Linked DNA regions of Homo sapiens: regions 2 and 3 are each linked to region 1. The links are contacts of gene promoters, found by promoter capture Hi-C in blood cells and fetal thymus (Javierre and others, 2016). All regions are on one chromosome and are shown on one strand. Each heading gives the region's core, a stretch centred on a gene start or on the middle of the fragment in contact. The rest is flanking DNA. Distances are from core to core; before and after follow the strand shown. Region 1 holds the start of RPSA (ribosomal protein SA). Region 2 holds the start of OXSR1 (oxidative stress responsive kinase 1). Region 3 holds the start of ZNF619 (zinc finger protein 619).

The links. The method cuts DNA at HindIII sites, captures the fragments that hold promoters and counts their contacts. A CHiCAGO score of 5 or more calls a contact.
Region 2: a contact is called between the fragment with the promoter of OXSR1 here and the fragment with the promoter of RPSA in region 1, in 7 of 17 cell types (naive CD4 T cells, total B cells, naive CD8 T cells and 4 more). The highest score is 11.0, in naive CD4 T cells.
Region 3: the fragment with the promoter of ZNF619 here is called in contact with the fragment with the promoter of RPSA in region 1 in 11 of 17 cell types (non-activated CD4 T cells, activated CD4 T cells, naive CD8 T cells and 8 more); the score reaches 10.1 in non-activated CD4 T cells.

Annotation. Positions count from the first base shown.
Region 1 is chr3:39,403,684-39,408,593 of GRCh38, forward strand. RPSA (ribosomal protein SA) reads left to right here and starts at 3,037. Exons shown (of 7, transcript NM_002295.6): 1 at 3,037-3,081; 2 at 3,938-4,103. The coding sequence starts at 3,971. SNORA6 (small nucleolar RNA, H/ACA box 6) reads left to right here and starts at 4,708; the gene lies at 4,708-4,856. RefSeq lists enhancers at 380-1,172, 2,758-3,549, 2,931-3,070 and silencers at 3,241-3,420, 4,816-4,865. The HindIII fragment of the contact is 4,276 bases long and covers 683-4,910 here.
Region 2 is chr3:38,162,629-38,167,538 of GRCh38, forward strand. OXSR1 (oxidative stress responsive kinase 1) reads left to right here and starts at 2,909. Exons shown (of 18, transcript NM_005109.3): 1 at 2,909-3,318. The coding sequence starts at 3,249. It overlaps LOC101928234 (a long non-coding RNA gene), which reads right to left and starts at 2,848. Exons shown (of 5, transcript XR_940733.2): 1 at 2,769-2,848; 2 at 320-369. RefSeq lists enhancers at 1,584-2,783, 1,944-2,023, 2,174-2,303, 2,574-2,673, 3,067-3,682 and silencers at 2,914-3,303, 3,354-3,403. The HindIII fragment of the contact is 1,868 bases long and covers 1,096-2,963 here.
Region 3 is chr3:40,474,342-40,479,251 of GRCh38, forward strand. It overlaps ZNF619 (zinc finger protein 619), which reads left to right and starts at 2,781. Exons shown (of 5, transcript NM_001145093.4): 1 at 2,781-3,016; 2 at 3,577-3,662. The coding sequence starts at 3,639. RefSeq lists an enhancer at 2,955-3,094. The HindIII fragment of the contact is 7,181 bases long and covers 1-4,910 here.

The sequences.
Region 1 (4,910 bases), core at 1,787-4,286:
AAAAAAAAAAATTACATAAAATAAAGAAGAAATACTCTAGAGTCTAGGATCGTGGTTTTTAAACTCAATATGGCTGCACATTGGAATCATCTGGAAAATGTTGGGGCTCAGAAAATGATACCCCTGACTGAATAAGGCACTTTGGCATGCTGCATGCTTTGAATTAAAGAAAATTGAAAGGCTTCTGAAATAGCGTCAGAACCAAGGTTTCTTTCTGACCTTCCCCTAACCCCATCTCTCAATCCCCTTTTCCCAAAGCATCCGGAGGGGCTTTGTCTGAAGTTCCCTTATCTGAATAAGGTAGGTTCCTCCAGAATAAAATACAATAGTCTTAAAACTTCCTCCCTAAGAATCTCATCAGGTAACCAGGAAATATTAACCACTGGGAAGAGAAAAGACTAAAAGTCATCACCATGCCCAGACAGACTCTTCATCTATTTTTCTGAGGGCAGCTTTTGAGAGATTTTCCAGGAGACATTATTTGCCTAATAAGGCAACCTTTGGTCACAGTGAAGTTCCTCCCCTTACCCTTTGCTGCTGTTTCCCCCAGAGCTCACAGGAACTTTGTCTCAGGCAAATTTTCTGTTCTTTGAACTCATTCCTATCCTTCCAAAAATCACTTACTAGCCCTCTAAATTGTTTACCATCCCATCTCCCTTCCCTGTGAAGTAGATGCTATTTAAGCTTCAGCCATCTGGCCCTTCTTTGAGTCTTATATTTCGTGTGGCTCCTGTGCATAAGCACATTAATAAATGTGTATGTTTGGCCTGGTGTGGTGGCTCACGCCTGTAATCCCAGCACTTTGGGAGGCCGAGGTGGGCAGATAACCTGAGGTCAGGAGTTCAAGTCCAGCCTGACCAACATGGAGCAACCCCATTTCTACTAAAAATACAAAATTAGCCGGGTGTGGTGGCGCATGCCTATAATCCCAGCTACTCGAGAGGCTGAGGCAGGAGAATTGCTTGAACCCGAGAGGTGGAGGTTTCGTTGAGCCGAGATTGAGCCACTGCACTCCAGCCTGGGCAACAAGAGCAAAACTCCGTCTCAAAAAAAAAAAGTGTATGTTTCTTCTCCTGTTAATTTGTCTATTGTCAGTTCATTTTAGCAGTGAACACTCAGAGGGTGGAGGGGAAGCCCCTACAAGAGCTTTAAAAGCTACTGATGCTTGGGTCTCACTCAGAGATTCTGATATATTCAGCCCAGGTGTAAGATTTTAAAAGCTGCCCAGGTGATCCTAATGCCAAGGCTGAGGCCCCTGGAGGAACCCTGCAGAGCTGCACTCACTACTCAGCAATCCCAATCCACACGTGAAGGGTTAAGCAGGAGTACATTTGGGTGCAGGGGGCAGGGCATTGTTTTGGGACTCAGGGGCCTCTGAGGAGGCTTGTGGCCTGAGTTTCTGCCAACAAACTGAATGCCTCCTCTTCCCATAACAAAGCGTAGAAGCGGGAGGCATTTGCATTTGCCGCAAGGGGCTGTGACTTCTCTGAATTTGTCCCTCAAGCCCCAGGTGCTTCAGCCTTGGTGGGTGATGAAGCAGAGCAGCCTGGGGGTGACCTGTGCTAGGGTCCAAGGGTTTCCAAGCTCCTCAGAAAATCATACTGGCTTCAGTGGAGCTGCAGAGCCACTTGCAGGAGAACCTGGATGTGCTGTCCTTTGGAAGAGTGGCCATAAGGGTCTACGAGTTCATTTTAGGGTGGGCTCAGAAATCAGATTGACTCAGCAGGCCCCAGAGAGGAACCTGCACTTTTTTTTTTTTTGACGGAGTCTTACTCTGTCGCCCAGGCTGGAGTGCAAGTGGCGCAATCTCCACTCACTACAACCTCTGCCTCCTGGGTTCAAGCAATTCTCCCGCCTCAGCCTCCCCAGTAGCTGGGATTACAGGCATGCCTGGCTAATTTTTGAATTTTTAGTAGATACCGGGTTTCGCCATGTTGGCCAGGCTGGTCTCTTGAACTCCTGGCCTCAAGGGATCCGCCCGCGTCAGCCTCCGAAAGTGCTGGGATTACAGCCACCGCGCCCCTTCAATTAACTCCTATTTTTTTGTTTGTTTTTTGGAGACAGAATTTCGCTCTATTGCCCAGGCTGGAGTGCAGCGGTGCAATCACATTCACTGCAGACTTGACCTCTAGGCTCAAGCTATCCTCCTGCCTCAGCCTCCTGAGTAGCTGAGACTACAGGGACGCACCATCATGATTGGTTAATTTTTGTATTTTTTGTGGAGATGGGGGTCTCCCCATGTTTCCCAGGCTAGTCTTGAACTTCTGAGCTCAGGCAATCCACCCACCTCGGCCTCCCAAAGTGCTGGGATTACAGGCACAAGCCACCGCGCCCGGCAAACTTATCTCCTACTGATGGATATTGCAAAATTTTTCTTCTACCAAAAAAAAAAAAAAAAAAAAGATAGATATAATCCATACCATCTGTTCAATCTTGTCCTTTTTAACTTTTTCAGGGAAACTTCCCCCAGGTGATAGATGGATAGATACATGAGATAGACATAACGCATACGATCAGTTCAATCTTATCTTTTTTAACTTTTTCAGAGAAAACTTCCCTTAAGTGAACATTTAAATCTGAATTACGTCCTGTTAAACTGTTCTCCAGGAAAATAAAATAAAATAAATCTTCAAGTTTTTGTTTACCTAACAATTTGTTGTGTCGAACAAACCTTCCTACTTTTCAGGTAACAAAATGGCAGCTTAGGCTAGAAAGCCGCTCATATTCGCAGGTACAAGGGCTGGGTAAGAACGCCCCGCCTGGCTGACTAACTTGAGTTCCGCGCTCTGGACAGGAATTATGCACAGGGCGTCGCTGTGGCACTAGAAACCCCAAAGTCACAAGCGCCCCAGATCCGACCAGGATGCCGCTACCGGCTACAGCCCAGAGGCCCGCTCCTGCGGCGCAAGCCCGCCTTCCTGAAGAAAAAGCCCAGTCCCGGCAGCGTTCTTCTCCGGCTCCGCCCTTCTTCCGCTCGACTTTCTTTGCCATTGGCTGACAACGGAGTACATAAGGACGTCATTTCCTGCCGCCTGTCTTTTCCGTGCTACCTGCAGAGGGGTCCATACGGCGTTGTTCTGGGTGAGTTCCGTGTAGCGTCCCTGGCGCCTTCCAGGGCTAGAAAAATGAGCTTTTCCTGCTCAAATGAAGGGTGAGAAGACTAGTGATGAAAGCCGGTCAGACTGGATCTGTCTCCCGCCCGGCGCGCCCCACCTTAGGCCTGCGGCCCGCACGTGGCCAGGCTCGGGCTGGCGGGTTCCCAGAGTGCCCCGGGAGCGGGTGGAGGCCGCCCTCCAGCGGAGGCTCCGAGCTGGGGTTCGGACCAGGCCGCGGGTGGGCGGGAGTGCAGAAAGCGGGCTAACATCCTGTGTTGCTATCCCTTCGGAGTCCCACACGGCGGTGAGTCTAGGCCCAGGCGCTGATTTACACCAGCTACTTGGGCTGGTCGGGTTTTCCCTTCGCGCCGTGCGGGTCAGGAGTTAAGGTTCTCGGGTTTTTAGACAAACAAGTGGTGACAGCACAGCGAAGTAATTCCAAAGCATCCGCCTACAATCTGCTTGAAAATGTCTGAAAACAATTCATGCCTTTTTTGCCTTTAGTTTGCATATTCCAAACATGGCTGCTCTTTTGTATCTAGTTGTTAACTTGGCGCATCCACAACTTTTCCTTAATTCCTATCTTGAGAAGTGTTGAATTTCCATTCGCTAATTTCGTGTAGTTTTATTACTCGGTTACTCTGCCGTCCACACTATTTCCTCAGTAAGATGTGCGCTGTTCCGTAATACACGACATGTATGGGTTAACTTTCTGTTTACCCTTCACTACACTGTAAGCTCAATGCCTGACACTATAGCAGATGGAGTTTTTGGTTGCTTTTAAGGGTGTGCCCTACTTAACTCAATGGAATGAAAAGAAATAGGTTGCTCTCTTATTTCAGATTCCCGTCGTAACTTAAAGGGAAATTTTCACAATGTCCGGAGCCCTTGATGTCCTGCAAATGAAGGAGGAGGATGTCCTTAAGTTCCTTGCAGCAGGAACCCACTTAGGTGGCACCAATCTTGACTTCCAGATGGAACAGTACATCTATAAAAGGAAAAGTGATGGTTAGTCATTGCTTTAATTTTTTGTTACTCCAGCTGTAAGTACAAATTTTGAGCTTGCTATTCTCGTGGTTAGTTCTGGGTAATTTCTTTCTATCTTCCTTAAATGAAGCCAGACCCCTACGTTGAAAACATACTTTAAATAAATGTTCTTGTTATTGAGAGAAAAGATTTCTGCTCCAGGGGAGGAATATGTCAGTTGTCTGAGTTACGGGACTTGGGTTGGGTCATGAACATGAGAAAGTTCATTGGCTGAGTTTCTAATAGCTCGCATAGTGCCTTCAACTTCATAGGTACTTACACAGGCTATTGAACTGAATTTTGAGTGGAAAGTGGGGTAAGAGGTGGGAATGAACAATATGGTTTGGAAGAACCAGAGGATGGAAGGCATTAAGTTGGCTAAGGCACTTACTTATTTTAGAGATAAAGCTACCAAGGACTTGGGAGTGACATGCTGTAAAGGAGTTTTAGGATGAATCTTGCATCAGTGCAGATTATAAAAGGGAAAGAGTGGCAGAAAGCCAGGAAGTGGATTATTAAGAACCAATGATGGAATAAGTACAGGGAAAGAGAAAGGAAAGATGGATTTAGCCAACTGAATCTAGGCTGCACACTATTAAAGCTCAGGGTGGAGGCCAGTCTTGGCTCATGAACTTCTGAGTGTCGGAAGTGTGCTATATCAATGGCAGGATTTTCGCTAACACCAGTAGAGCTTGCCTCTATGACTGGAGTTTGGTAGTACTCGCTGCCACATAGAGTAAACTTGAGAAGAATGTTTGCACAGCCAGGTCAAGTGTTACAAATCCTTCT
Region 2 (4,910 bases), core at 1,659-4,158, 1.2 Mb before region 1:
GAGTAGCTGGGATTACAGGCGCCAGCCACCACGCGTGGCTAATTTTTGTATTTTTAGTAGAGATGGGATTTTACCCTGTTGGCCAGGCTGGTCTCGAACTCCTGACCTCAGGTGATCCACCTGCCTGGGCCTCCCAAAATGCTGGGATTGCAGGTTTGAGTCACCGTGCCAGGGAGAAAAAAACAAAACAAAATAAAACAAAACAAAACAAAAACAAAACTGAAGTATGTCCATGGGTCATACAACTCAACAACCCCAAGCCAAGAATTTCTGGTTTGTAGACCTTTCTATTGGTACAAACCTTGAGGCTAATTCTTACCATCAGATTTAGCTCCTTTCTGATACATTTGATCCCCATCCCTCTCCTCCCTGCAAAAAGAAAAAGGCAGAACATATGGTAAAGAAACTGTCAGTAGTAATGGCTGAAAACCACTTACAGCAAGGCCTGTGCTATGCTTTCTGGAACTGCGGCACCTTTGCTGAGCCTGGACTATTCTATCCTCTAAATGTGCACCTGTTGAAATCATGTTAACTTTGCAAGATCTGGTACAAATGCTACCTTCTTCATGAAACGTTCTCCAATCCAACCAACTAGGTGGAAACCCGCTAGTAGCTTCTAGTTGACTGGTTTCATGGTCAGTTGGACCTCCCACAGCAGAGCTCAGCGCAGAGCTTCCAGTGCTTGGCGGTGTTTTAGAACCAAACTAAGGTCTACTTGCCCAGTGCAGTGACATTAGATTGCCACACGGAGGTTTTGCTGCAGTAGAAAGGCAGGGCGCCTAGCAAGAGGGGAGAATTAGTGTAGCTCAAGCTTAATATATATATAAATATACATTATATATAATACATATTTCATAAACTTATGAAATACATACTGGGGACCTAAACTTCCTGGCGTGAGCCACCGCGCCCAGCCAAGCATTCTTAAAGATAGGGGTAATTTCGGAAAAGAAGAAGTTACAGGTAAAGTCATAAATCAATACACAGAGGTTATACATTGGTTTGACCTAAAAAGGGGGGACATCTCCAAGCAGGAGCCCACAGGTCATAGGTGGATTCAAAGATTTTCTGATTTGCGATTGATAAAAGAGGTGAAGCTTTGTCTAAAAATTTCGGATCAGTAGAAAAGAATGTTAGCTACAGCTTGTGGGCATGACCTTCTTCAGGAAGAAGAAACTTAGAGAAAAAACAAACCACCAGTCAGAGTTCAGTCCTTAGCTCCCCATTCTCTGAGGTCTATGTGCCAGCAGATCCATTTGGTGGGGGTCTGGGTTTCTAAAAAACAACTCAGGGACATGTGTTGATGTTATCTTTAGTTTTTATAGGGAACCAAACATCCAGTTATTTTAGTTTCTTTGGCTAATGTTTAAAGTTATTACTGCCCTCTTGCTTATCAAGGGGTTCATTAACTTTTCAAGGCTAGCTAAGTGCCGGGAATTTCTCTTGAAGTAACTCAAGATTTTCCTTTATTTCCATGGTTGAGGGCCTGCAGGCCCTAAAAGGGGTCCCTGCTCCGTCTCAGCTGGGCCTAGGTGAAGGTCTCTTCCTTTTTCTGAGACGGTGTCTCCGTCTGTTGCCCAGACTGGAGTGCAGTGGCATGCTCTCGGGTCACTGCAACCTTCGCCTCCTGCTTCAGCCTCCCTAGTAGCTGGGATTACAGGCGCCAGCCACCACGCCCAGCGATTTTTCTGTATTTTAGTAGAGAGGGAGTTTCACCATGTTGGTCAGGATGGTCTCGAACTCCTGACCTCAGGTGGTCCGCCCGCCTCCGCCTCCCAAAGTGTTGGGATTACAGGCGTGAGCCACCGCACCCGGCCTAAGGTCTCTTCCTTAAAGACTGCCGTTGGACTGAAAGGTGTCCAACCTAGAACAGTTTCGCACCTAGCCCTATCCCTGTTGGATGCTCATTATTTTTTAAAATCCAATTTACCAAGCGTGTTCAGTCTTCAGCTCGCTAATTTCTCTAACGGCCGTACGTAGTCAAACTGAGAAAACTGTTCAGTGGGGGCGACAAAAGCCAACGCCCGTGAGACAACCCCCAAATCCGTGGGTCGATCTCACTTGTTTAATACCCCAAGCCCTGTCCGGGGGGAAGAAAGACAACCTCCCGAGTCCCTCAAGGCAGGTGCTTATTTGAGCTTCAGATCTAAAGCTGCGAATGGACAGAACCCGCCCAGTGCAGGGTGGACCCGCGAGAGACAGCGCCGCGACAAGCGTTAGAGAGAACGTCCGCCTTGAAAAAAATGTCACCAGGCAAACTTCCAGTTTCACTCCGACCAGTGGCCCAAGGCCTTTTATCCTAGTTGGCAGTGGTCCACACCCAAAGGCTACCCCACCCAGCCGCTCCCTCAGGGTTTCTCCACACCCTGTAGAGCCTTTCGCACGTCTCGAGGGTGTGACGGTTACGCCGTGACGTCACTCCAGAGGAAGTGGTAAGACGAGCGCGGTAACGGAGCTCTTGAAGGGCTGCAGCCCTAACACGGAGAAGCGCGCTAAGAGCCTGGAGGCGGGACCAATTTATGACTGACGTCTACCCACACCCATTGCTTTTCTGATTCCTTCTCAAACAAACCAATGAATGCGACGACGGAGACAGCAGCGTGCCCCAGGCGCTAGAAGTGGCTCTGCCCCTTCTACTTTGCTGCCCTTTGGTCGCCATGCTTAGTGTGGCTACTGCCTCTGTGCTACTTGAGGCTCTCCTACGGCTTTTCGATGCCTTCGATGAACCTCTACCTAAGCACTTCTTCCCTTTCACCGCGAACTCCTACCTTCTCGGGTTTCTAGCTTGCTCACTTTACATCCAGCCACACTGGAGATGGCGGCCGGAGGCGGGCCCGAGGTGGGGCGTGACCAGCGCAGTGACGTCAGCGCGCTGCGTGTCGGCAGGTGGAGGAAGAGGGGAAAGTTTGGCCCGTGCGTGGGGCTGGGGTGGAGGGCGGGACAGAGGGGCTGGGCCCAGGCAAAGCTTCTGTCGCTGCTGCTGCGGAGGCCGAGGACAGGACGTGGGCTGGGCCGGGCAGTGCCGGACTCGGAGGAGCAGGAGGCGAGGTCCGCCGGAGCTCTGAGCCCCCGCTGCTCTGCCGCGCGGTGACCCCGCGCCCCGGCGCCGTCCGACCCGTGGCTGTTCCGAGACGATTGGTGGGGGCGCGGCGGCGGCGGCGGCGGCTGTTGGGGGTGGGGAGACGCGCGGCGAGGAGACGAGCGAGGTCAGCGAGTTTGAGGGAGGACCGCGAGCCGCTGCCGCCGTCATGTCCGAGGACTCGAGCGCCCTGCCCTGGTCCATCAACAGGGACGATTACGAGCTGCAGGAGGTGATCGGTGAGAGCAGGCGCTGCGGAGGGGGGAGGCGCGGCGCTGGGAGGCGGGGGACACGGGAACGTGGGGAGCCGCGGGAGCTCGGGGAGCGCAGCCCTCATAGGAATTCGTGGGGCGCTTGTGGGGCTGGGGGCTTGTAGGACGCTTGTGTCGAGGAGCGCGTGTGAGACGGGAAGGGGGTTTTGAGGCGCGCGCCTGTGAGGTGGCGTGGGGTGGGGTGAGGCTTGAGGGGGCTCAGGAGAGATTTGTGTACAGGATTCTCAAATGTGTGGACAGGAGCGGCCCATGTGTCTTGTAGAGAAAGAAAGTGCAGGTGTGGGACAGGCCTTTCCGAGGCTGTGTGAGAAATGGGATCTTGAAGTGGGCACAGCCATCGATTTCTGGGATTGTGGGATAGATAGGGAGCTTTAAGTTTTTCCTCCATCCGTGCTGGGGCGAACTGGGGATCCTCCAGGTGAAGCTGCAGGAACCGCGCTGAGCAACCGAGACCCAACTTACGACTCCTTCCAACTGACTTTCCAGTCGGGGAGGTAGACATTAAATAAGAAGACAAAAAGAAGTAAGAAGGGCTGGGCGTGGTGGCTCACGCCTGTAATCCCACCACTTTGGGAGGCCGAGGCGGGCGGATCACGAGGTCGGGGGTTCGAGACCAGCCTGGCCAATATGGTGAAACCCCGTCTCTACTAAAAATACAAAAATTAGTTGGGTGTGGTGGTGCGCGCCTGTAATCCCAGCTACTCGGGAGGCTGAGGCAGAAGAATCCTTGAACCCGGGAGGCGGAGCTTGCAGTGAGCTGAGATCGCGCCACTGCACTCCAGCCTGGGCGACAAACCCTGACTCTGACTCAAAAAAAAAAAAAAAAAAAAAAAAATTTGAAGAGGCTTTGGCAAGTGCCATGAAGGAGATAAACAAGATGTTCTGATAGAGAATAACCTGGAGATCTACTTAGGGTGATTTCAAGGAAAATTCTTTTTCTGAGGCGATAACATTTCAGTTGAGCCCTGAAGCATGAGAAGTGAGGATTAAGAGCCTCGGGAAGATTTTTCCTTACAGAGGGATATAGAGATGCAGTGGCCTTGAGTAAGGGAAGAGCTTGATTTGTTTTAGGACCTGAAGGAAGGCTGGCAAGGATAGAGAGGGAAGGGAGGAGCCAGATCTTAGGGATCTTCTCAGCTTTGGTACAGATTTTGGAATTTTAAGTATCACTGGAGGCCCTCAAATAGTGCCTTGACGTGATCCGATAAATTGGGCTGGTGTGTGAAAAGATTTGAAGGGGGTCCAGGAATACCAGTTGGCAGAGACCAAAACTTGCACATAGATTGTAATTCTCACAGAAGCCTAGGGATTGGGAGGAGGCTGGGGACTGGGGATGAGGGGAGTATTTGTTGGACAACAATAACCCAGTGACCTTGGAAATCAAAATGTTTAGCTATACAGGCTCAATCCAACGGACATGAGCAGACACCTGTGTATTGGAGGAAGGCGAATTATCTGCTTTGCCAGCATCCTGCCCTAAAATTAGTTTTATAACAAAGACCAACTGAAGACTTCCTAGCTGCCTTGGGGGTGTCAGTGTTTATTTCACTGTGGGTTTA
Region 3 (4,910 bases), core at 1,531-4,030, 1.1 Mb after region 1:
AGTACCAAAATTGGTTAAAGGCATTAAAAACCTGAATGGACTAATAACCACACAAGAGACGGAAAAGTTGTCAAATATAAAAAGGTGTTGGGTCCAGAATGACTTATAACAGGTGAAATTTTCATACCTTTATAGGACATTTTGGCCCTAAGTTATGCTTTCCTAAATAATATGAAACTGTATATATACCTTCTATAGACATGGTCTCACTCTGTTGCCCAGGCTGGAGTTCAGTAGTGTAATGAGTTTCTTGGTTGGATGCAAACTGGTGCATTCACTGAGGTGGGGGAACCCTGGAGGAGGAACAGGGGGATGAGGGAAGGATGATGAGATTAGTTTGGAACATTTTGAATTTTAGGCTTTTGTAGAATAATTAGAAATCAACAGGCAGTTTCAAACCCAGACCTCTAACTCCAAGCTATCTGCACACTGCCTGGCCAATAGGAAGCACTATTGCCATGAGTGTTATTAAATCTGGACTGCAGAAAGAGATACGGGAGTGTCTTACAGGAGAGTGGTGAGATACGCACGAATAATAATAATGTCAGCAATAATATAGCACTTATTTTGACTTAGTTCAGTACAGAACTGGACTCTGTCCATAAAAAGAGTCAAACTCAGTAAAATATTTAAAGAGATTTATTCTAAACTAAATATGAGGACCAGTGACCCACGACACAGCCCCAGGGGGTCCTGAGATCTTGTGCTCAAGGTGGTCGGGCTACAGCTTGGTTTTACATGTTTTAGGAAGATATAAGATATCAATCAATAAATGTAGGATGTACATTAGCTCCATCCGGAAAGGAGGGACAACTCGAAGTGGGGAGTGTGGGGGCACCTTCCAGGGCGTAGGTGGATTCAAAGATTTCCTTTCCTTTCCTTTCCTTTTTCCTTTCCTTTCCTTTCCTTTCCTTTCCTTTCCTTTCTTTTCTTTTGAAGATTTCTAACTGGCAATTAGTTGAAAGAGTTATGGACTGGGCACGGTGGCTCACGCCTGTAATCCCAGCACTTTGGGAGGCCGAGGCGGGCGGATCACGAGGTCAGGAGATCGAGACCATCCTGGCTAACACGGTGAAACCCCGTCTCTACTAAAAATACAAAAAATTAGCTGGGCATGGTGGCGGGCGCCTGTAGTTCCAGCTACTCAGGAGGCTGAGGCAGGAGAATGGCATGAGCCCGGGAGGCAGAGCTTGCAGTGAGCCGAGATCGCGCCACTGCACTGCAGCCTGGGCGACAGAGCAAGACTCTGTCTCAAAAAAAAAAAAAAAAAAAAAAAGTTATTAGCTAAAGACCTGGAATCAATTGAAGGGAATGTCTGAGTTAAGATAAGGGGTTTTGGAGACCAATGTTCTTATTATGCAGATGAAACCTCCAGGTAGCAGGCTTCAGAGAGAAACGATTGTAAATGTTTCTTACCAGACTTCAAAAGGTGCCAAACTCTTAGTTAATTCTCTACTGGATCAAGGAAAACACTTTGAAAGTGAAGGGGATTCTTTACAGGATGTAGATTTTCTTCACAAAAGACAGCTTTACAGGGTCATTTCAAAATATGTCAAAGAAATACATTTTAGGGTAAAATACTTCAGTTTATTTCAGGGCCTGTTATCTGTCACATGAGACTATACTAGAGTCAGGTTAGAATTTGATGTCTTATTGCTATAAAGAGTTTGTTTTGGGCTGGGCGTGGTGGCTCACGCCTGTAATCCCAGCACTTTGGGAGGCCGAGGCGGGCGATCACGAGGTCTAGTTCAAGACCAGCCTGGTCAACATGGTGAAATCCCGTCTCTACTAAGAATACAAAAATTAGCCGGGCGTGTTGGCACGTTCCTGTAATCCCAGCTACTCAGGAGGCTGAGGCAGGAGAATTGCTTGAACCCGGGAGGCGGAGGTTGCAGTGAGCCGAGATCGGGAAACTGTACTCCAGCCTGGGCTACAGAGTAAGACTCCATCTCGGAAAAAAAAAAAAAAAGTTTTAGTCAGTCTCAAGATCTCTGTTTTAATGTTAATGCTGGTCCGTAGTGCCTGAATTCCAAGGGCATAACGAGGCAAGTCCGATCCCCTGCTTCCCATCATGGCCTGAACTAGATTGCCAGGTTTTCTTTGGAATGTTTTGGCTGAGAGAAGTGGTCCATTCAGTTGGTTGGGGGACTTAGAATTTTATTTTTGGTTTACAAAACTGTTGCATGAATTGACTCAGTTAATTCACTGAATTTATAAATTACAAACTTTTACCATTCTCAACTGATAAATTGAGGCAACGATTTAAGTATAACTTGAGCAAGTCCATATAGAGTGGAGCCAGGAACGCAGACAATGAGACACCATACCCCATGGTCTTAGGTCACAGTCATTCAGTGGGAGACAGGGGCTATAAATTCATTAGAAGGTTAAGTTAGGAATTAAGTAATTAGGTAAGGAATTAGGAATTCAGTTAATTAAGTTACAAATTGTTAAATATGGAGGAATTTATCATGTAGTTGGGGTACTAAGACATAAGAGAAAATAATAAAGAAAAACAGGAGCGGCCGGGCGCGGTGGCTCACGCCTGTATTCCCAGCACTTTGGGAGGCCGAGGCGGGCGGACAGCTTGAGCTCAGGAGTTCGAGAACAGCCTGCGCAACATAGCGAGACCCCCGTTTCAAAAAACACACGAAAAAATTAAAATTAAAAAACAAACAAACCAGGCGCAGAGCGGTTGTGGAGAAGGGAAGCGAAGGGTTGGAGTTTCGTTTCGTGGGAACCATAGAGAAGGGCCAGCCTCCCGGCTTCCTAGAGAGGCTGTAGGGACCGACGGCCGGCCAGCTAATGCTTCCGTCTTGGCCACCTTGCGAGCGCTCGGGTTGAGTTTCCCGGGCTTCCCTGACTCGGCTACCTGTTCTGGAGGTCAGGCTTTGGGCCCTTGCAGAGGTCGCCGAGGGGCCCGCGCCGCCGCCAGAGCCTGGGCCCAGTCCCCAGTCTTCAGAGACGCCCTCGACCTTCCTGCTCCGAGGAGCTGGCCTGATGTCCTCGGGTCGCGGTATTCATGGGGAGGATGGGAGCCGTGACTATAGGGTCTCCTGCTTCCCAGGGTGGAGCGTTCAGATCCCGGTTAGGTCTTCGGTCAGCATCACCCGCTGGGACATTAAGCGTCTTACCCTTGTCACCCGGGGCTGGGTCACCACTTATATTTTGTCCTGCAGCCTGTGGTTTGTTTAGGGGTCCCCGTTATATCCTACTTTCTCTCCAGAGACTTGTTTTGGGTTTTTGCCATGAACACTAGAAGCATTCAATACAAACTGTTTAGTAATGCATTCATAGTGGGGCCAAGAATTTTTTTTAAAAAACAGCCACGAATCCACTGCAGTTCTTGACTCTTACTTTACAGATATTCTTTCTAGAGTTTCCAGTGTCACCAAGCAGATCTATAGGAGAATATGCAGAGGGAGCATTTGCAACATCCCATGAATCAGTGGAGAGGGTGAATGACAGCAGCTAGTGTGCCAAGAATATCTGCAATGCTAGTGGCAGGAGACAGAGGGGAAGAGGCGGCAAGTGTAGGAGACGAGACAGATCAGTCTCATTGTGGTTCTCTCTTAGCTCCGCAGGTTCTTACTTTTTCAAACCTAGAGGGCAGTGCATGAAGCCAGGGGTCATCAGCCATGCTCCAGACAGTGTGGTTCCAGGTGAGCAGAGCTTTCTTTCAGCTTTCCATACTCAGAACAGATATGGAAGGTCAGTACAGCCCCAGTAGCCTGACTTGGCCAGTCTCATGCTTAGTTTTACATCCTTCAATAAAGTATGTAAAAACAGTATGCGAGGGGAGTTGACGAACGAGAGTAGGTGAATTTGGGAGAGTCAGGTAGGTTGGAAAAGAAGGAATGAATTATCCTAGAAAGTGGGAATCTGCATTCATGAGAACTGAAAGTGTGGCCTGGAGATGAGCAGCTTTTGCATTACAGAGGGCTCTTGTTAGGCAAAATGTCAGGCCCCCTCCCCAGATCTCCTAAATCAGAATCTACATTTTTACAAGATCTGGAAAATTAAAGGGCAGATTAAAATTTGAGGAGTGCTAGTCTGCGTTCACAGTACACAAAGAAAAGCCATTTCTGAGGTTAAATAGACACTTCCAAGGGAGGAGTTTACCCTGCAGACCACTCAGTTAAGGTACAGTGAAGCCAGAACTGGAAACATGTGGAAAATGTAGATTGATGAGGGAGATGTATTTTTGGAGGAATGATGAGTTTGGAGCTGAAGCCAGTGCCTTTAGCTCAATGCGAAGACGTCAGTCTAACCTCTGTGAGAGTCTATATCCTTTCTTGGCTACAAATTCATGTAGCATTGGGAGGACTTTTCCCTCCAGTTTTCTTGGTGGTAGATGATGGTTTTACTGGATTTTTCTCCAGTGTCCTAGATCATGGAATGAGAAAGCTGAGTTTATCATGTAATGGATGTATCTTGTAATGAGAAAGCTCCATCCCAAGGACTTAAAAACAATGTGTGTGTCCTTTTGGTGGATATTGGACCATCCACTTCTGTTCGAGAACTTCAGCAAAAATTCATTCCTACAAGTCAGGAAGTGTGCTGTGGGGGTATGCTGTGCTCTCCTGGTGCTTTGCCTGAAGTACAGAAATCACTTAGGATTAGATTCCCCAAAGAGGACCCCAAATGACAGTGGATTAAACGAGGTAAAGGCTTCTCTCTCATACAAAAGTATCAAGAGTCAATACAGGGCTAGTGTGGCAGCTCCCCTATTATGCTCTCAGGCTCTGTCTTTCTGCTCTACCATCCTAGCAGTGTCTCACCTGCTCTAGGCCACTTTATTGTCCAAGGTGGCTGCTTGATCTCTAGCCATCATGTGTGCATTCCAGCTAGAAGAGGAGCTGCCCAAAAAAAGATGAACCTCTCTCTTTTAGGAACCTTCCCATAAGTCC